Regions from separate parts of the Homo sapiens genome. Here regions 1, 3, 4, 5, 6 and 7 are each linked to region 2. Evidence: promoter capture Hi-C in 16 types of primary human blood cells and fetal thymus (Javierre and others, 2016). All regions are on one chromosome and are shown on one strand. The core of a region is centred on a gene start or on the middle of the fragment in contact, and the rest is flanking DNA. Distances in the headings are between cores, read along the strand shown. Region 1 overlaps PLCG2 (phospholipase C gamma 2). Region 2 holds the start of CMIP (c-Maf inducing protein). Region 3 has its middle 1.9 kb from the start of C16orf46. Region 4 overlaps PLCG2 (phospholipase C gamma 2). Region 5 overlaps PLCG2 (phospholipase C gamma 2). Region 6 overlaps PLCG2 (phospholipase C gamma 2). Region 7 has its middle 2.5 kb from the start of GCSH.

Evidence for each region. The method cuts DNA at HindIII sites, captures the fragments that hold promoters and counts their contacts. A CHiCAGO score of 5 or more calls a contact.
Region 1: a contact is called between a fragment that was not itself captured here and the fragment with the promoter of CMIP in region 2, in 1 of 17 cell types (total B cells). The highest score is 5.0, in total B cells.
Region 3: a contact is called between a fragment that was not itself captured here and the fragment with the promoter of CMIP in region 2, in 2 of 17 cell types (naive CD8 T cells and naive CD4 T cells). The highest score is 6.2, in naive CD8 T cells.
Region 4: a contact is called between a fragment that was not itself captured here and the fragment with the promoter of CMIP in region 2, in 9 of 17 cell types (naive B cells, neutrophils, total B cells and 6 more). The highest score is 14.0, in naive B cells.
Region 5: a fragment that was not itself captured here is called in contact with the fragment with the promoter of CMIP in region 2 in 4 of 17 cell types (neutrophils, total B cells, naive B cells and 1 more); the score reaches 21.1 in neutrophils.
Region 6: a fragment that was not itself captured here is called in contact with the fragment with the promoter of CMIP in region 2 in 5 of 17 cell types (neutrophils, total B cells, M0 macrophages and 2 more); the score reaches 11.8 in neutrophils.
Region 7: a fragment that was not itself captured here is called in contact with the fragment with the promoter of CMIP in region 2 in 2 of 17 cell types (naive CD8 T cells and naive CD4 T cells); the score reaches 7.6 in naive CD8 T cells.

Annotation. Positions count from the first base shown.
Region 1 is chr16:81,937,421-81,940,413 of GRCh38, reverse strand. PLCG2 (phospholipase C gamma 2) reads right to left here. Exons shown (of 33, transcript NM_002661.5): 28 at 2,511-2,656; 29 at 1,499-1,613; 30 at 355-522. Among named protein-coding and RNA genes, the nearest start is that of SDR42E1, 73 kb to the left of the region's middle. The HindIII fragment of the contact is 7,086 bases long and covers 1-2,993 here.
Region 2 is chr16:81,443,249-81,446,308 of GRCh38, reverse strand. CMIP (c-Maf inducing protein) reads right to left here and starts at 1,501. Exons shown (of 21, transcript NM_198390.3): 1 at 768-1,501. The coding sequence starts at 1,067. RefSeq lists silencers at 509-808, 1,239-1,288, 1,359-1,708, 1,819-1,918 and an enhancer at 2,128-2,660. The HindIII fragment of the contact is 9,361 bases long and covers 1-3,060 here.
Region 3 is chr16:81,077,698-81,080,493 of GRCh38, reverse strand. No RefSeq gene overlaps it. Among named protein-coding and RNA genes, the nearest start is that of C16orf46, 1.9 kb to the right of the region's middle. RefSeq lists an enhancer at 2,174-2,796. The HindIII fragment of the contact is 2,067 bases long and covers 229-2,295 here.
Region 4 is chr16:81,828,382-81,831,224 of GRCh38, reverse strand. The region is part of intron 2 of PLCG2 (phospholipase C gamma 2); the gene reads right to left. LOC124903731 (a long non-coding RNA gene) reads left to right here. Exons shown (of 2, transcript XR_007065139.1): 2 at 1,389-1,639. Among named protein-coding and RNA genes, the nearest start is that of PLCG2, 51 kb to the right of the region's middle. The HindIII fragment of the contact is 6,701 bases long and covers 1-2,843 here.
Region 5 is chr16:81,866,866-81,870,051 of GRCh38, reverse strand. PLCG2 (phospholipase C gamma 2) reads right to left here. Exons shown (of 33, transcript NM_002661.5): 6 at 754-838. Among named protein-coding and RNA genes, the nearest start is that of PLCG2, 89 kb to the right of the region's middle. The HindIII fragment of the contact is 9,375 bases long and covers 1-3,186 here.
Region 6 is chr16:81,810,217-81,813,111 of GRCh38, reverse strand. All of the region lies in intron 2 of PLCG2 (phospholipase C gamma 2), which reads right to left. Among named protein-coding and RNA genes, the nearest start is that of PLCG2, 32 kb to the right of the region's middle. RefSeq lists enhancers at 1,747-2,066, 2,157-2,246, 2,747-2,866. The HindIII fragment of the contact is 4,423 bases long and covers 1-2,895 here.
Region 7 is chr16:81,097,456-81,100,273 of GRCh38, reverse strand. No RefSeq gene overlaps it. Among named protein-coding and RNA genes, the nearest start is that of GCSH, 2.5 kb to the right of the region's middle. The HindIII fragment of the contact is 2,961 bases long and covers 63-2,818 here.

The DNA.
Region 1 (2,993 bases), core at 156-2,655, 490 kb before region 2:
CCAGAGAGCAGGAGGGGGAGATCAAACCAGACTTAGCCCTAGCTAGGGAGAAGCAAACCGCATGTAATATTTCAAAATGAAATCAAACTGCAGTGCCAGGTTGAGGATCCACTAACAATCCAGTTTTGCTTGTAAACATCCCACTTTGAGGGGCATAGCCTCCCCTGTCACCCACTTCCTCCCACCTGTGTGCTACACGACAGGCTGTACACCTGCTCTCCAAGCCACCCAATCGGTTTTACAGTGATTCCATCCAAACCAGGAAAAATCATTTTTCATTCTTTTTGAAGCCAGCAGCCAAACCAAAGTACAACGCCAGCCCAAATCGAACATCTTAATTAAAATGCCTCTTACCTGATTTGACTGCTTTAATGGGGTAAGTGGCATGAGCAAGAAAGTTGGGATCGCTGAACATATCTTCTTCATAAACCACAAAGCGCAGAAATGCCAGGTTTGGGTCATAAATTTCAAATGTCACCTTCTCCTGTGTTGGAGCCCAGATAGGGCTGAGGCCATTATCATCTGGAAGGAGATCAAAGCTCATGAGAGGCCACATTGGAGCTGCCCCCTTCTGGTAAGACAATCTCCGCATCCTTCAGCTGTGAATCCCCTTAGCAACCATGTAAATAAATATGCATCTATGCCAAGATCTAAGAAAATCTGAATAATTATCTTCACTCCCCCACCCCACCTTGAGCAATCCTGGAAGCTGCTGTTGCAGGCTGGTCCCTTGGTGAGCAGAGGAAGGAGACCACCTCCCATCTCCCCGCCCCAGGATCAGGGACAAGGGAACGGGGGAGGTGTTTGTTTGCAGAGCAGGAAGGTGGATTTTGGAAAAGACAAAAGGGGAGGAGAGCCTGGGAGCCACATCCACCAGCAGGGGGTTCTACAGCTGGCAGGGGAGAGCCCAGCCTCACAGAGCAGGCAAGCAGCAATCCTGCCACTCTCCATAAATGCCAGTTTATTTGGTCAGCATCTGAGTTGTTCATTGGGCTACTTTTTACCAGGGGCAAGGATCCTGTGCTTTAGAAGGCCCACCAATCACGGTTCCCTCCTGGCTTTTCCTGGAAGAGCAAGCATTCCTCTTGTCCCTCCTGCCCTCTAGGGGCTAAGATCTCCCAGGTTAGGCTGATCCTCTGGGTCAGGTCAGCCACGTAGGTTCACCCCCTCTCTCTGTGTCTCTGCCTCTTGGCCTTTGACTCAGGAGATTAATCAGATTGGGCTGTTGCACAGAGAGGACCAACCTAGTGTCAGGGCCTCACCTACGATTCCGGACTTGAGTTACAGGCAGGCAAACAGCACTGGGGAAAGTCTAAGGATTTCAGAAAGTGGCCCTTTGTATGTATCCCCTCCTCAAGCTGAACCATGTGGGCAAGAGGGAGGAAAGAAAACCCTGGGACAACTAAAGAGCATTGCAAAATCCCCCACGAAGAGCACTCCCACAAAGGATTCACTGGCCGGACGTTTAAAAGCAGAGGGGCCAAGGTGACTGACTTACTCACAACCGTCGTCTTGAACTTGTTGTTGTCATACTCGGCTCCACAGATCTCCACTTCTACAAAGGGACAGGCAATACTTCGTCCAAGTTTGGGGAGATGGCGAGCACCGAGAACCTGGGACACCAAAGGGAAGCATTGGAACCCCCCTGGGGTCCTGAACAGGCAGCCTAGCGTGGATTGCAGCTGGGTTCTAGAGTGACACTGGATGAGTTCAATGCCAGCCCTAATTTTCCTAGATTCACTGGAAAAGCCGGAGCAACCTTCTGCAGTGGATGAAGGTGGACTGTGGTAGATCCCACAGTTCCTCAGCATCAGCCTGGGTCTCGGCCCCATATGCCACCTGACTCAACAGGTAAAACTCACCTGAGCTCATGAATGCACACATCCATGCCCAAGCAGGTGCCTCTGATCAAGGCAGAGCTTAATCACTGGATTTCCACACCCCTAGGAAAGGCTGAGGAACAGTGTGGCATTCTTTTTATAACTGCTGTTTATTTAAAGGCCTGTGTTTACGTATGCTTCTTCCCCCTACCACCCGCCCGCCCTTAACCTTAGGAGAAATGCAATTCATTTCTCTACTTTTCAAAAATTCTTACAAAGCAACAACACTTTCTCTGAAAGTCAGATGAATTTTAAAAAGCCCTGGAATTGGACAAAGTAAGGGAAAAAACTTCTCCATTAAGACCAAATGGCTGTTTCCCATGTTTTCTTTCTCTTTCCGGCCAGAGGCTGACCTCACCAGGACCCCAGAAAGATAGGGTCATACCTCACCCCCACAGAGGACAAGGGGAAGTGGGTTTGAGGAGGTTTCCCCTCTCTTCCCTCTTCTCCCAGAACGACCCCGGAGTGTACTGTAAGAAAGAAAGATCCTCAAACACTGCCTGAATGGGGATCGTTTAAACAAGACAACCAGCCTCCCTAGACATGGGTTCCCTGCTCTCAAGACAGCATCGGCCCAGCCCCCAGGGAGGGCGGCTGGCTCCCCTGGCAGGAAGGGAGGGCTGGCTTTACCTTGACTGTCAGCGTCATCAGGATCTTCCTCTGGGACTCGGGTGGCATCGGGTCATATTTCTCTGTCCTCATGCTCTCAGGCTGCAGAACGTAGCCCGTGCGCCCATTGAGAGAAAACAATGCGTGATTCATCTGCATGTACTTATCTGGGAAGGAAAGTGAACGCCTGCTGTAAGTCAGGCATGAGCACGCTGGCCCCCTAGGCCAGGAGTTTCTAGGTGGGGAATGAATTTCACCTTTTCCCCAAATTAATGTGAGGCAGCTGTTCAAATAGGTATCTCACTCAAAGAAAATATAGGGTTTCTAGACAGCAAACTCCCAGACTGGGGAACACCTTTCCAAGTATGTCACCAAATCCCGAATCATAAAAGAAAAGATTCAAACTTGCTAAAAGTGTCTATGTAGCAATAAATTGCATAGGCAATTTTAATTCAAATGACAAATATGTGAATATAAATTTTTAACCTCTTAGTTCTGATACAT
Region 2 (3,060 bases), core at 252-2,751:
GTATTTAAAAACAATAACAAAATTAAACCTCCAGCAACAAAACACACACGTATACACACACTCTACAGACAATGCCGGACCAGGGCTCCACCAAGCAGCTTCTAGGCTAGAACTCGACCACCGCTGGGTCCTGAGATATTCCAGGACCACTGCCCCCTCCCCCTCCACTTCCAACCTCTCAATGTGCGAATGAGATTTTCAGAAAGGGAAGCACCCCGTTCTGCCTGCCAGCCCTGGCAGGAAAGAGAATAAAGGACGGGTAAACCAAACAGAGAAACTGGCTTCTGGAAATTCTTTGGGTTTGGGGGTTTGGAGGTTTTGTTGTGTTGTTTGTTTTTTTTTTTAAATCTGAGGGGTGGTATTTTGTTTTCCCCTCCCCCACCCCTCAGATCCAGATGGGCCAGGGGCTTCCAGAGAGAACCCCCACCACCATCAGGGCCCAGCGTCGGGTCCATCCTCGAGTCCCAGCCACCAGAAACACAAGAGCTGGGGGCAGAAGGTCCCCAGGCACCCAGCCTGGCGGTGGGCCGAGTCTCCAGCATTTTAAGGGTCTCTCCTGAGCCCGGTCGGCTGGTTTGGGCTTCAGACTCCAAAATCGAGCCCCGCGAGCAGGCCAGGAGCGAGGCGCCCTGGTTCTCCCCGTTCCCCCGGCACCCCCCACCGCCCCCCAGGCCCTGGGCTCCAGGTGCAGCGCCAGGGGGCAGCCAGGGAGGGCGCATCTCGGGCCCCGAGGAGAGGCGGGGGTGCAGCCGCGCAGAGCCACTCACCGTGGCGGACGCCAGGCTGTTGTCGGCCAGCGTTAGGTGGTGCGGCTCCCAGCGCCTCAGGAATTTCGAGGTGAGGATCTTGCTGAGAAAGGTCCGCGGGTGCCGGATGACACAGACCTGAATGTCGCCCTCCTGCAGCAGTTTGTACCTCATCCCGTTGCAAAGCAGAAGAGCCCGGCGGCAGGGCACGGCGCCCATCTTCGTGCCTTCGGGGGCCGACACGTCGCCCCCCAGCAGCGGCTTGGTCTCCTCGATCTGCCGGGGGTCGCCGCCGCCGCCCGAGCTGCTGGTCACATCCATGGCCGCGCCGGGGGAGGGGGCTGGGGGCGGGGAGAGGGGGCTGTCCTGGGCTGCTGGGGCGGCGGGGCCCCCGGATCCGGCGGCCCGCACCCCCCCACCCCCCGGGAAGGTGGGGGGGTGTGGGGCTGGGGGCGCCCGCAGGGGAGGGGGCGCTGCCCGCGGGGGGCGGCGCGTGCGGCGGGCTGGGCCGGCCTCGGCGCTTCCTGCGGGGCTCCGGGCTTCCTCCTAGCTCGTCGGGTGCATGCTCGCGGCGGCTGACCGGGCTCGGCGGGCGACGGGGAGGGGCGGGGGAGGCCGAGGGCGGGCCGGGGCCAGGCGCGGAGGGCGGGCGCCGGGGTGGGGGCGGCGGGGTGGGGGCGGGCGTGTCTCGGGGCCCCGCGCCGCCGCGCGCGTGTGTACAGAGCGTGTGTCCGCGCGGCCGTCCGGGCGAGAGTGGCCGCGGGCGGGGCGGGCCGCGCGCCGGGCTCCCGGAGCCCGGGGCGCCCGCGCGATTGGTCCCCGCAGGGTCATGTGCCCGCCCCTCTGACGTCAATGGCGGCAACGGCGGCGGCCGCGGCGGCTTCGGCCTCTCGCGGGCGGAGTCCGCGGTCCGGGCGGGGTCGCGGCCCACGACGGGGAGGCGCGGCCCGACGGGAGGGGCAGCCCCTGGGGAGGGGGCTGGGGCGGGCGAGCCCCGCGGGGTCCCGGCCCGCCCCGCCTGGAATGTGGGGAGGGGGCGGGGCGCGGGGGCGGGGCGCGTGACGTCACGCCAGCCGCGCCCCCGCGGGTGCCCGGGCGGGAGCCCAGCCAGGCTGCCGGAGCCTGGGGGCCCGCGCCTCACCCACCCCCGCCGCCCCCGGGCCGGACTCGGACGGGTAAAGAAGGATACCCGAGGGCCGGGGGCTGGGTGGAAGGACGGGGACTGGAACCCTCGACCCCTGACGCCCCCTCCGCTGTCCAGGCTGTCCAGCGGGCTGGCCAGATGGGGCCGTGGGACGGGGACGCCTTCCCGACTGAAAGTGTCCCCGCGGTGATCCGGAGGATGAGCCCACCCTGCCCTGTCTCCCACTGCGGGACCCAGCCGGCCTCGAACTCCTGGCCTTTGACGTCTGCTGGCTTTGGCCTTGGGGGTCCTCAAACCTTCTGGAGAGAGGGGACGGTCCGCCCATCCCCCTTCTTTCTTCTGCCCAGGGAGACAGAGCCTCTTCTAGGAACCCACTTAAAGCACCCCCCAACCTACACAGCCACCCCTCTTGTGCGCACCCCAGCAGCTCCCCCTACTTCACCTTCCCTGGGACCCCACCTGGTCATTTTATCTGAGTTCACAGGCCCAGCACCAGCCCACGAGAGAACCATATTCGATTCTCTTGTGACCCAGGGTATCAGGAACTGCAGCCTGGATGCAAAAAGCTCCCTTTCTGCCATCACAAGCAGCCGGCACCTAAGGCCACCTAGCAAATGCTCAGCTCCTCAGCCAGGTTTTCTTATCTCCACGTGCTCCTGCAGCTAATAACGTTAAAACCCTAGATTTTTGCCTTTTTAAGTGAAGGCGCCTCTGTAGTGAACACATGAATGTGTGCAGCGTGTGTTGAACTGCGTCGTGAACACTGCGGAATATCCACAGCATCTGTGCCGTTGGTGGAAATTATTCACCCCCCCTCTCCCAAGAACAGGCAGCATGAAGGTGCTCCCCAGAGGACCCTCTCCCCGAGCCTGGCCAGGGTTTCAGGCAGGGGATGAAAGGCAGGTCCCAGGCTGCATCCCTCACCAAGGAAAGAAGACTCACATCCAGCCTGCCCAGGAGATGCCTCCTTGGGGAGGCACAATTAGATTAGAAAGTTAGAAATTCCTTAGCTCCCCACAATTTGCTGCCATTTCCTTCCAGTTTTGAGCTTGAACAGCCTTGAGAAAACCACCAAGCATGAAGGGGCAAGCCCTAGATATGTGGGTGTTGGGGGGTGGTTGGGGCCAAGAAACCCCCCAGTCCATTAAGCGGGTGGGATTAGATCCTTTG
Region 3 (2,796 bases), core at 13-2,512, 370 kb after region 2:
CAACCCCTCTTTTTTCAAAGAGCAGAACATTTGGCAACTTGCTCTTCCACTATTTAGAACACAGAGCCAAATCCACTGTCATTGATGTCACAGTGCTGCCAAAAATACAGGCTTTGAATGGCCCTCCAAATTGACTGAATCCAGGGAATTTAATTTTCATGACCTCATATTCCTTTTGAATGGTTTTGGCATTAGTAGAGCAGATTAATAGAAGTTTTGAAGAAAGCTTTCTAGTAACTAAAACTTGAGAAACTGAATAGGTTACCCTGCAAGTGTTAAATTTTTTTTCTGCTATCACCTCCCAGGTAGTTTTGTCGTTAGCTTTAGGTTTTGTTTTGTTTTTTGTTTTGTTTGAGACGGAGTCTCGCTCTTTTGCCCAGGCCCTCCACCTCCCGGATTCAGGCAATTCTCCTGCCTCAGCCTCCAGGGTAGCTGGGAATACAGGCACCCGGACCACGACCATGCCCAGCTAATTTTTGTATTTTTAGTAAAGATGGGGTTTCGACATGTTGGCCAGGCTGGTCTCAAACTCCTGACCTCAGATGATCCACCCGCCTCGGCCTCCCAAAGTGCTGGGATTACAGGTGTGAGCCACCGCGCCTGGCCAGTTTTAGGTTTTAATAAACCACTAGGGAGCTCTGCATGGGCATACTACTATGAAAATGAGGCTGGCCATTCAGATCAGTTCCTCAGCAAATCAGAATTTCTGAATTTTTTCAATTTCTTTTCTTTTTCTTTTTTTTTTTTTTTTTTTTTTTTTGAGATGGAGTCTGGCTCTGTCGCCCAGGCTGGAGTGCAGTGGCGCGATCTCGGCTCACTGCAAGCTCCGCCTCCCGGGTTCACGCCATTCTCCTGCCTCAGCCTCCCGAGTAGCTGGGACTACAGGCGCCTGCCACCTCGCCCGGCTAATTTTTTGCATTTTTAGTAGAGACGGCCTTTCACTGAGTTAGCCAGGATGGTCTCGATCTCCTGACCTCGTGATCCATCCGCCTCGGCCTCCCAAAGTGCTGGGATTACAGGCGTGAGCCACCGCGCCCAGCTGCTGAATTTTTCCAATTTCTATAGTTTTTCTGGGGCTACTAAAAAGAGCACAGTTTAAAAAATTATGCTAACTACAAGCGTGTCTTTTTTACTGTGTTCTTTCAGACCAAATCACACCTTCCTTCCCATACTTAAAGAGGTGCCTTTCTTTACACCAGGATTAAATTCCTCTTTCTTCCCTGCAACAGGCCTTTCCTGCCGCCCAGGCTGGAGTGCAATGGTGCGATCTTGGCTCACTGCAACCTCCACCTCACGGGTTCAGGTGATTCTCCCACCTCAGCCTCCTGAGTAGCTGGGATTACAGGCGTCCATCACCACACCCGGCTAATTTTTGTATTAGGGTTTTGAAATGGGGTTTCGCCATGTTGGCTGGGCTGGTCTTGAACTTCTGACCTCAAGTGATTGACCCGCCTCAGCCTCCCAAAGTGCTGGGATTACAGGTGTGAGCCACCGCACCCACCCATCTCCCTTTAATTTTAAAAAATAGATATGGGGTCTTGTGACACTTCCCAAGCTGGTCTCAAGTGATTCTCCTGCCTTAGCCTCTCCTGTGAGTAACTGGTATTACAGACGCAAGCCACCACTCCTGGCTTTTTTTCTTTAAAATACATTTTATGTGTTAGAGGAAGTTTACAGTCACAGCAAAATTGAGGAGAAGGTACAGTTCTGTACGCTTCCATTCTCCGTTTTTGCAAAGTGGGATCTTACTATAAGTAGAGTTTCTGGTATCTTGACTCAATTCCTATGTTGACTTTTTATAAACATAACTAGCCAAACCCTTGTCCCTTCATGTTTCCACTCAATCATGCTATCGGGCTTTTACCTGCTAAATGCAGGAATAGTTAGTGTGAAGGAAGTCAGGTTCTAGATCCTCCAACTTCCCCATGTACTTGCCGTTAGGTTATTTAATTAATATTCATTTAGCAAATCTTAGTTAAGACTTTTGGTATACTTCCCAGAAACTTTTTTCTAATATGCAAGGTCTTGCACTGTTTCCCAGGCTGGAGTGCAGTGACACAATCATAGCTTACTGCAACCTTCAACTCCTGGGCTCAAGGGAGCCTCCTGCCTCAGCTGGGATTCCAGGTGTGAGCCACGGTGCCCAGCTGTTTTCAATAGATCTGAAGGAAGACCAAAACAAATTGTCAACTGATAAAACATTTAAATGTTTTTGGTTAATACTTACTAGCTTGAGATACAATAAAACCCCTTTTATTTGCATCTTCCTATTTATGTGAACAAGGTACCTAAGCTTACACGTATGAAAAAAGTTGGAATAGAATTATAGCTGAATCCGTCTCATTGGAGCAATCACAGTGCTAGAGAACTTAGATACCAAAATTTTTTTTGAGACTTGAGTTTTGCTCTCCAGGCTGGAGTGCAGTGGTGCCATCACAGCTCACTGCAACCTCCGCCACCCGGGTTCGAGCCAGTCTCCTGCCTCAGTTTCCCAAATAGCTGAGATTACAGGCGCCCGCCACCACACCCGGCGAATTTTTGTATTTTTAGTAGAGACACGGTTTCGCCATGTTGACCAGGCTAGTTTCGAACTCCTGATCTCAGGTGATACACCCACCTCGGCCTCCCAAGTGCTGGGATTACAGGCGTGAGCCACCGCGCCTGGCCTAGATACCGGTTTTCTACAGCAGAAATAGTCACACTTTCTAAAGCAGAAGGGCTTTGGAGTCAGACCCGAGCTGGAGTGGGGGATGCTTTGCGATCTCTCTTCAGCAAGCTGTTGTTTTAGGGACGTGG
Region 4 (2,843 bases), core at 32-2,531, 390 kb before region 2:
ATAGGAGGAGACAGAGACAAGTCAATATTTATTACACTTGGCAATCACAAGTGCTACAAAAACTAAACCAAAGAAGAGCAAAGCATGGTGTGTGACCAGGAGGGAGGGGCTCTCATAGAAGGTGTTATCAGGGAGGCCTCCCCAGAGGTGGTGACATCTGGGCTGATGTCTGAGATAGAATATTTCAGGCAGAGCAAATAGTAAATGCAAAGGCCCCAAGATGGAAATGTGTATGGTTGGTTGTAGGAAGAGCAAGGTTGTCACCAGCTGGGACACACTGCGTATGCTCTCTGAAACCCTCATGACCCGCAGTGCCTGTCCATCTCCCCTCTCCTGCCTGGACATTCTAGTCACGCTGTCTCTGCACTTGCATATACCCTCAGTCATCCAGAAGCCCGATGCCCCCCTCACCCTTCCCATCCCCCTCCACTATCACACACTGTGTCTGTCAGTCTCCTCCAGGGTCCTCTGGAGTCAGCTGCAGCCCTTGGCAGATGATTTTGCCATTTCATTCATATATATACATATATAAAATATATGTGTGTATATATATATATACACACACACACACACACACCCCACACATTTTTTTGTTGTTGTTTTTTAAGACACAGTCTTACCAGGCATGGGGGCTTATGCCTGTAATCCCAGCACTTTGGGAGGCTGAGGCCTATGGATCACTTGAGGTCAGGAGTTCCAAGACCAGCATGGCCAACGTGGTGAAATCCTGTCTCTAATAAAAATACAAAAATTAGCCAGTGGTGGTGGCATGCGCCTATAATCCCAGCTACTTGGAAGGCTGAGGCACAAGAAACGCTTGAACCCAAGAAGTGGAGGTTGCAGTGAGCCAAAAGTAGCACCACTGCCCTCCAGCCTGGGCCACAGAGCAAGACTCTGTCTCAAGAAAAAAGAAGAAGAAAAAGACAAGACACTGCTGGAGTGAGTGGCATGATCACAGCTCACTACAGCCTCAACCTCCTGGGCTTAGGTGATCTTCCCACCTCAGACTCCTAAGTAGCTGGGACCACAGATGCGTGCCAACATGCCTGGCTAATTTTTGTACTTTTTGTAGAGACAGGGTTTCATCATGTTACCCAGGCTATTCTCAAATCCCTGGGCTCAAGTGATCCCCCTGCCTCAGCCTCCCAAAGTGCTGAGATTATAGGCATGAGCCACTGCACCCGGCCACTATTATATATTTAATCTCTCCACTCCTTGAAGGCAAGACAGCACTGCCCGTTCATGGGTCCACAGCAGGAAAGTGCCTGGCACCTAGTGGGGATGCCACCGAGAGGTAGAATAAGCCCCCTAGAGAGCGATTTGGCACTCACTACTGAGGCTGGAAATACACACGCCCCCCCACTCAGAGGTTCCTTCCCCATCCACAGCTACCACAGCACCCTCTGCAATTTCAAAGGAGAAAGGGACTCAGCACAAATGCCCAGCAGGAGAGAGTGGACAAAATGGCTCTTGTCACCAATGGAATGCTCTACAGCAATTCAAAAGAAAGAAACACCTCTACATATCGATGGAAATAAACAAAAACTAGGTGCAATGTGGTGTCCTGGATGAATCCTGGAACAGAAGGAGAACATACGAGGAGAAACTGTTAAAGTCCAAATAAATTCTGGAACTTTGATAGCGATGTGGTAATGTTAATTTCTCACTTTTGGCAAAGGTATCATGGCAATATAAAACAGAGAAATGGGCCGGGTGTGGTGGCTCACACCTGTAATCCCAACACTTCGGGAGGCCAAGGAGGGTGGATCACCTGAGCTTAGGAGTTCGAGACTAGCCTGGTCAACATGGTGAAACTGGCTAGGCACGGTGGCTCACGCCTGTAATCCCAGCACTTTGGGAGGCCGAGGCGGGCAGATCACCTGAAGTCAGGAGTTCAAGGCCAGCCTGACCAACAGGGTGAAATCCCATCTCTACTAAAAATACAAAAATTAGCCGGGCACGTTGGTGTGTGCATGTAATCCCAGCTACTCAGGAGGCTGAGGCAGGAGAATCGCTTGAACCCGGAAGACAGAGGTTGCAGTGAGCCGAGATCGTGCCACTGCACTCCAGCCTGGGTGACAGAGCCAGACTCCGTCTCAAAAAAAATAAAATAAAATAAAAACTACTAACTACCCCATTAATGAATGAAAATCACAGATACAAAAAAGACAGGGCAGAGGGGGCAGTCCTTGTCATCATTAAAAGCCAGGTCCTGTGCTTTTCTGACTATTCCTGAGACTAGCAATGTTTGAGAGAATGGCCCACACAGGAAATTCATTCTGTGATCTCCTGTAAAATCAGAATGCAGTTGGTAAGATACAGCCTCTTATCTCCTGAACTCATGATCCACCCACCTCGGCATTCAGAAAAGAAAAAGGAATGCAAGTTAAGGGGAAATAAATTCACATTTGTTGAAACCTTCTATGTACCCGACTTCACCAGGCACTCAGGAAAATGCCACATTGTTCAATCATCACAGCAGCTTCGGAAGGCTGAGGCTGTGACGGCTGGCTTCTATATGAGGAAACTGAGTCTCAGACGACTTTTATAACTTGCTTAAGGTTGTAAAAGCAACCTTTTCTCAAGACCCTCTGCTGACCCGCAAGGACTCGCTGATCAAAACTGCAGCTCATAAAAGCAAAGGAAGAGGCACCACACCACAGCACAGAATAAAAATGACGCTTCTCGGCCGGGTGCGGTGGCTCACGCCTGTAATCCCACCACTTTGGGAGGCCGAGATGGGTGGATCACGAGGTCAGGAGATCGAGACCATCCTGGCTAACATGGTGAAACCCAGTCTCTACTAAAAATACAAAAAAATTAGCCGGGCGTGGTGGCAGGCA
Region 5 (3,186 bases), core at 148-2,647, 420 kb before region 2:
TTCCAGGAGCTCATTAATACAAAAATGAAATGAGCTTTTTGCACTGAGGAACCTTGTAATGGAGCTGATATTGAAAATGGGCATTGGAGTCCTCCAACTGGGGCTGTTTGGATGCAGGGTTGCTCATTTCCTAAGAAGAATGAGTATTTCCCTGTAAGCAAAAATCGGTGCCCATTGTCTCCATCCTTGCCTCACCTGCTCTACTATATCCCATCACTCATGGAGTGGCTTTACTGCCCAGACCCACCAATAACTTGATTACACAACAAAATAAATTTAATGATGTATGGAAGGATGGATGGTTGGAGAAACAGAAGAAAAAAGAGCCAACTCTGACAGCTACACTACCAGGACTTGCATACAAAATGCCACGGTCCTGGTACCCTACACAAGGAATCTTTCATAATATTTTCCAAAAGACATACATGCATTCATTTCACTAGGGAAAAAATGGGCTGCAGTATGGTCAGGGAAATAGGGAAAGCTGGACTAATGGAAAACAGGTCTGAGGGTAGATGTTCCAAGTCCAAGAGCTCAGTAAACATGGTCTTTATTGATTACATTCTCTGCTAGGATTGAGACGATGGTCCTCAGATATGTCCATGATCCCTCTGTCTGAACTAAGATGTACTCTGGAGGCAAAGGATTTTCTTGTGCACTATTCCACGGAACTCAAAGGCAAGCCACGGCTTCATGAGAGAGGCTAAGTCACTCCGCATTCATAAAATTCCCAGGCTGAGCCATGAAACTTACCACAAACTTATCTTTAAGGAACTTGGCACTGCTCACTTTAAAGTTGATCAGGGGCAAGATGGTCTTCAACTCTCGGAGACTGATGCTGCAAAAGAGGGAGACCCAGTTCTGTCACCTTGAGGGTTTTCAACAGCACAGGATTTAGCTGCTCCCATCAGTTCCCACCTCAGGCAGCCCTCTATGAGAGAGCCTGGTCAACAGTTATTTATGGACCACTAACTGGGAACAAGACATTGAGTCAAGGTAAGGGTGACACTTCAATGAGCAAGGCTCAAGCAATGTCCATGGACATGGGTCACATAGCAGACTCACAGGGTAGGGTGATGCCCCAATAAGGAGGGCTGGTCTCCACCCTTCAGGTATGTCCAGGGACATAGGTCACATAAGAGATTTATAGCGTACAGTGATGCCCCAATGAGGAGGCACCTACACTGGAGATCCCCAGTATAGGGTGATGTCCCAGTGAGAAGGGCTGGTCTCCACCCTTCAGGAATGGTCATGGAGGAAGGTCTTGCAGGAGATTCAGTGTGGGCAGAAAATGATGTCAAATGACCAGATAATCTCAATACAAAATGCCACAGAAATGCCAAAGGCCCAATATAGGTGTTGACATGATGTGATTTCTGCCCAGGACTCTGAATGTCAAAGTGAAGAAATTCAATGAAGCCTGGGTAAACATCAGGAGTAACTATGACACTCTTCATGTAGCCAAATGCTTTGTCACCTAATTAGCGACACACATGAATGGATGAACAAGACTCCTACTGACTCTACCTGCCACCCAGAGGAACCAAAACCACAGGACGGGCTTGGCAGAATCAGCCAGGAAAGACCCAGCTGAATTTGACTCTAGTCTGACACTGTGAAGAGACAAGAGGGATGCAGAGTAAGTGGGGACCCCCTGCACCCCCAAAAATAAGTAAAAAAATAAAGGTTTCTTTTAATGCCACTGGGGTTCAGAGCAAGGCAAGGTCACTAAGGGCCAGGGAGGGGAAGTGGGAAGGAACAAGGCCTACATGAGCACCTACTGTGTGCCAGGCTGCCCTGGGGTCATCCAGGCATTAAAGTTGCCTAATTGTTCACCAGATTCTACCTTCTGCAAAGTACACATGGTTGACCCCCAGGGCTCAGAACAGCCAAGGGTGGGGTGTCACATGGGTACACAACTCAGGGCTTAGAGCTGGATGGCAGGCAGCAGAGCCTGGATTTGAATCAAATTCCAGTGCTCGGTCACAGGAATCTGCATGAGTGTTTCTTCGAAGCCACATAGTGAGGTTCAGCTGAAGCGGGAAGCGAGGGCCAGGCACGGTGGTGGCTCACGCCTGTAATCCCAGCACTTTGGGAGGCTGAGGCGGGCGGATCACGAGGTCAGAGGATCGAGACCATCCTGGCTAACACGGTGAAACCCCGTCTCTACTAAAAATACAAAAAAAATTAGCCAGGCATGGTAGCAGGCGCCTGTAGTCCCAGCTACTCAGGAGGCTGAGGCAGAAGAATGGCGTGAATTCGGGAGGCGGAGCTTGCAGTGAGCCGAGATCACGCCACTGCACTCCAGCCTGGGTGACAGAGCAAGACTCCATCTCCAAAAATAAAAAAGAAAAGGGAGGGAAGCAAGGGAGAACACGTCCCAGGCAAAAGGAGCAGCAGCAGCAGTAACAATAGTAACAAAAGCTGAAACTTCAATAGTGCTTATCAGGTGACAGGTGTTGTTCTAGGTGGTGCCTTATATGCACATTCACCTGTTTGATGTTTGAACAATTTTACAAGGCAGGTACCATGATCATCTCCATCTTCCAGGTGAGGAAACTGAGGCACCGATCAGTTTGGTACCTTATCTGTGCTAGCCTCAAACTCCAACCCAGTGTGCCCATAATGACCACACCTGACTGCCTCCAAGCGAGTAGCTCACACAAGAAGGAGAAGTGAAATTAGTGGGGTGGGTGGGTCAAGAATATGAGATCCAGACCCTTCTGGCTGGAGCCAAGTGTCCAGCAGAGCTGAGACAGAGTGGTCAAGAGAGGAAGCTCGCCCCACCTTGCAGGAGAAAACCACCTAGTTTCCCTGTACCATCCTCCCAGCTTCTGCTGTGGCATGCGGAAGGAAGTAGCGCGTCACTGCCCAGCCGCTGCCCTGGAGACGGTCCAGTGTGACTCTGGCCATCCTGTGTCCCCACCTCCAGCCTTTCCTCTGGTTCTAAGGGCCTCTGTAACAGCACAGACTTCAAATGACAAGATGCTCCCCACCCACTTACTGGTACCACAGGGACAGCACCCACGGCTTTCACAGACAGACCTTGAGGGCAGAAAAAGTCCCTGTTGGGCCAGCTGGGGCTGGCTGGGCACAGCGGCCAGCAGGCTAGGGAAGTTGCCCCAGGGGCTTGCAAGAACCTTTCTGCCTCAGCCCTGGGAGTGGTCCAAGGAACAGCTGGGCCAG
Region 6 (2,895 bases), core at 205-2,704, 370 kb before region 2:
ATCATGCTACCTGACTTCAAACTATACTACAAGGCTATGGTCAACAAAACAGCATGGTACTGGTACCAAAATAGATATACAGACCATTGCAACAGAACACAGACCTCAGAAATAACATCACACATCTACCACCATCTGATCTTTGACAAACTTGACAAAAACAAGCAACGGGGAAAGGATTCCCTACTTAATAAATGGTGTTGGGAAAACCAGCTAGCCATATGCAGAAAACTGAAACTGGACCCCTTCCTTACACCTTATACAAAAATTAACTCAAGATGGATAAAAGACTTAAACATAAGACCTAAAACCATAAAAAACCCTAGAAAAAAACCTAGGCAATACCATTCAGGACATAGGCATGGGCAAAGACTTCATGACTAAAACACCAAAAGCAATGGCAAAATTAACAAATGGGATCTAATTCAGCTAAAGAGCTTCTGCACAGCAAAAGAAACTATCATCAGAGTGAGCAGGCAACATACAGAATGGAAGAAAAATTTTGCAATCTATCCATCTGACAAATGGCTAATATCCAGAATCTACAAAGAACTTAAACAAATTTACAAGAAAAAACAACCCCATCAAAAAGTGGACAAAGGATATGAACAGACACTTCTCAAAAGAAGACATTTATGCAGCCAAGAAACGTAGGAAAAAAGCTCATCATCACTGGTCATTAGAGAAATGCAAATCAAAACTACAATGAGATACCATCTCATGCCAGTTAGAATGACGATCATTAAAAAGTCAGTAAACAACAGGCCGGGTGCGGTGGCTCACGCCTGTAATCTCAGCACTGTGGGAGGCTGAGGCGTGTGGATCACGAGGTCAGGAGATCAAGACCATCCTGGCTAACACGGTGAAACTTCGTCTCTACTAAAAATACAAAAAATTAGCCAGGCGCGGTGGCAGGTGCCTGTAGTCCCAGCTACTCAGGAGGCTGAGACAGGAGAATGGCGTGAACCCAGGAGGCGGAGCTTGCAGTGAGCTGAGATAGCGCCACTGCAGTCCAGCCTGGGCAAAAGAGCAAGACTCCGTCTCAAAAAAAAAAAAAAAAAAAAAAAAGTCAGGAAACAACAGATGCTGGAGAGGATGTAGAGAAATAGGAATGCTTTTACACTGTTGGTAGGAGTGTAAATCAGTTCAACCATTGTGGAAGACAGCGTTGCAATTCCTCGAGGATCTAGCACCAGAAATACCATTTGATCCAGCAATCCTATTACTGGGTATAAACCGAAAGGATTGTAAATCATTCTACTATAAAGACACATGCACACATATGTTTATTGCGGCACTATTCACAAGAGCAAAGACATGGAACCAATCCAAATGCCCATCGATGATAGACTGGATAAAGAAAATGTGGCACATATACACCATGGAATACTATGCAACCATAAAAAAGGATGAGCTCATGTCCTTTGCAGGGACATGGATGAAGCTGGAAACCATCATTCTCAGCAAACTAACACAAGAACAGGAAACCAAACACCACATTTTCTTACTCTTAAGTGCGAGTTGAACAATGAGAACCCATGCACACAGGGAGGGGAACACCACACACTGGGGCCTGTTAGGGGTTGGGGGACTAGAGGAGGGATAGCACTAGGAGAAATACCTAAAAAAAGAAAAAAGAAAACGGAAACATCATCCTGAAACCAGTTCCCAGCCTAGGGAATCCATCATCTTCTCAGGTGACTAACACTGGGAATGGCCTTCCCTTTTGAGTCCTGAACCCCGACGTGCAAAACCATCCCTTATCGATGATACTGCCAACCAAAGTGCTCATAACTGAGCACTAACCTAAAGGTTTTACATACCCGATCTCTAGTCTTTACACCCACACACGAGGAAGGTACCACCGGTGTGCCCATTTGACAGATGCAGACACTGAGACCCAAGGAGGGAGTCACACAGACAGAATGGGAGACTCAGGAGGCAAGCCCAGGCTTGTTCAACCCCAACACTGCTGTCATACGTGGTGCCATATGACCTTCCCCAGCACACTGAACACCTCAGGGTCATTCCAGGAAGTGCACACTCATGTCCCTCTGGTACACAGGTTAAATGTGGCCTTAGACCACAAAGCACAGCCACTAGGGCCAGGAAGGCCACTGTTAGATCAGTTTCGCTGCTGTTCCCTGGGCTGCTTCTCAGGTGCATAACCTCCCTTGGTGCCTCTTAGAGAGGGAAGCAAAAGTTACCTTCATTTTCGTTATAAATATAGTCATGTACAAAATTATTTGATCAATGTTGTGCTTGCCTCTCCCACTAAACAATAAGGTCGATGAAATTAAAGACCCTGTCTCCTTCTATCAGAACTCAATACAGTGCTTTGCCCTGAGCAAATGATCCATAGATAGTCACTGAATAAATCAATAACAGGAAGAATGAATTAATGAGAAATAAATGCACTTTGCTCAGGGCCATTTTAAAGAGCAACATCACCAGCAAAAAATAAAAAGAAAGAAATTGCAGAAAATAAGGCACTAAGTGGACGGCAGAAAGGACACCTGTTTGCAAAAAGAAAGCTAAAACAGGAAGGCAGAGTGTCATCTTGTTTGACCTCAGCAGGGCATGTGTGAATGGGTGACCCAAATTTTTCACCAGTCTGCATCACCAAGAATGACCACAGAAGGGCCAGAACTACTGGTTTGCAGGTTGCAAATAAGTTGGAGCAGAAAGGCAAATTCACCAATACTGATGCTGCAAATAACGAAGGCCAAGCATAGATGCTGAGAGAAAAACGGTCTCTTATGAGGCTGCTCATGGCCACGTTACGTGTTCTATAGACTAGAGTCGTCTGGGATAGGAGAGAAGCATGGGCTGGGCACGGTGGCTCACACCGTAATCCCAGCACTTCGGAAGGCTGAGGCATGCCACGAGAATCAA
Region 7 (2,818 bases), core at 294-2,793, 350 kb after region 2:
TGGCCAGCCAGCCTTGGTGTCCCTTGGCTTCTAGATGTGTCACTCCCAGATGGGAAGAAGCTTGCTGGGAGCCTGTGTTCCTTCTCCTTTTCTCAGCACACCAGCCATATTGAATTAGGGGCCCACCCTAGTCCAGGGTGACCTCATCTGAACTAATTATAATACATCTGCAGGGATCCTGTTTCCCAATATGGTCACATCTGAAGAACTGGGACTTAGGACTTTGACATACCTCTTTAGGAGCCACAATTCAAACCAGAACAGGTGTCATTCCTCCAAAAATGTTTCTGGGTCAAATAAATATGGGGAATACTGGTTTATAAAAGTTTTTTTGTTTGTTTGTTTGTTTGTTTGAGACAGGGTCTTGCTCTGTTGCCCAGGCTGGAATGCAGTGGCATGATTTCAGCTCACTGAAACCTCTGCCTCCCAAGATCAAATGATTCTTGTGTCTCAGGCTTCCCAGTATCTGGGACTACAGGCACACAAGAGCATGCCTGGGTAATTTTTGTATTTTTTTGTAGAGACGGGGTTTCACCATGTTGGCCAGGCTGGTCTTGAACTCCTGGCCTCAAGTGATCTGCCTACCTAGGCCTCCCACAGTGCTGGGATTACAGGCATGAGCCACCGCACCCAGTCTACTGTATTGTTATAAGAGGAAAATATGTCTATCAGCTCAAAGAGATGAATGGGCCCCTCTCAAAACACCTGGAAGAAATGACCACCTGGAATTTTCCAGAGCTTATACTCAATGGGCAACGAGATGACCTTTAAAATCTCAAACCAGGAGGTTACAAAGATTACTAGGTAGAAAAAGAAAAAAAATTTTGACTGTCTTCAATGCTTTTTACCAAAAGAAAAACACATGTCATATTTTTTGGTGGAAGGGCCTTTTTGTAGCCCATATGTTGATGTTGATGTGTGATCTTTTTCTTCCCATCACATGAGTTAGTGAAGCTGAGAATAAATATGTTAGGGTGTAAGTGGCACGATGCTGCACTGTCTTGTAATGAAACAACAATAGAAAACAACATCTTGACATTAGAGAAGGTAGCCAAGATCTGTAGTGCAGGGTAGACCAGCGTGATCCAGTCAGCATCCCAAACGAAAGCAAGCGGAGCAGAGCTTAAGAGCAATTGCTGGCCAGGCACGGTGGTTCATGCCTGTAATCCCAGCACTTTGGAAGGCCGAGGTGGGTGGATTACAAGGTCAGGAGTTCGAGACCAGCTTGGCCAACATAGTGAAACCCCATCTCTACTAAACATACAAAAATTAGACGGGCGTGGTGGCACGTGGTCCTGTAGTCCCAGCCACTCGGGAGGCTGAAGCAGGAGAATTGCTTGAACCCGGGAGGCAGAGGTTGCAGTGAGCCAAGATCACGCCACTGCGCTCCAGCTTGGGCGACAGAGCTAGACTTCGTCTCGAAAAAAAAAAAGAAAAAAAGAAGAGTTGCTTTCTAATCAGTGTAGAGGCCAAGGTCTACTACTGCCACCTAGGAGCTACTTAAGCCACAAAAACGCCTCCCCGATCCCACTCCTCGGAAGTGCCTTCACCTCTGAGCCTCATCTATGAAATGAGTGTAACACCTGCCAGAAAGAGGTTTGGAGAGGATTAAAAAGATGTGTGCATAGTGCCAGGCACATAGCAAAGGCTCAATAGATGGGAATGATTTGCTCAAAAGAAAGTGGGCATGACGGCCCTTGCAAGCCACTGCACAGATGTGGTGGCAACCCTAAGTTCATAGCAGGGCAGAAGCTCAGTGCAACAACGTATGGGCTCCCCAAACACACACACACTCCATGGTGTGCACCCTATGGTACTGTTTCCGGTGTTTGAACAAGAACAACTCCATTTTGAATATGGGCTGGGTAAAATGAGGCTGAGACTTGGTGGGCTGCATTCCCAGGAGGTTAGGCATTCTTTTTATTTGTATTTTTTTCTGAAGCAGAGTCTCGCTCTGTCACCCAGGCTGGAGTGCAGTGGCGTGATCTCGACTCACTGCAACCTCTGCCTCCCAGGCTCAAGTGATTCTCGTGCCTCAGCCTCCTGAGTAGCTGGGATTACAGGCACCTGCCACCATGCCTGGCTAAACTTTGGATTTGTAGTAGAGACGGGGGTTTCTCCATGTTGGCCAGGTTGGTCTCGAACTCCTGACCTCAAGTGATTCACCTGCCTCACTTAGTCACAGGATGAGCTAGGGTTGGCACAAGATACAGGTCACAAAGTCCCTGCTGATAAAATAGGATGCGGTAAAGGAGCTGGCCAAAACTCACCAAAACCAAGATGGCGACCTCTGGTAGGTCTCACTGCTCATTATACGCTAATTATAATGCATTAGCATGTTAAAAAAAAAACAACTCCCACCAGCGTCATGACAGTTCACAAATGCAATGGCAACGTCCAGAGAAGTTACCCTATAGTCCAAAAAGCGGAGGAACCGTTAGTTCTAGGAAATCCCTGCCCCTTTTCTGGAGAACTCTTGAATGATCCACCCCTTGTTTAGCATACAATCAAGAAATAACTATAAGTACACTTAGTCGAGAAGCCATACTGCTGCTCTGTCTACGAAGAAGCCATTCTTTTTTTTCTTTACTTCTCTATTAAACGTGCTTTCACTTTATAGACTCTCCCCAAATTCTTTCTTGCATGAGGTCCAAAAACCCTCTCTTGGGGTCTGGATTGGGAGCCCTTTCTGTAACAGTACTAAAGGTGTGTGTGTAGCTTAAGGTGTTTTTCAGAACAGTATTTCTTTGCTGACTCATGGCCACTCCATAAAATCTGTGTTAAAGGTGAGGTTTTTCCCAGAACCTAATTTTTTTCT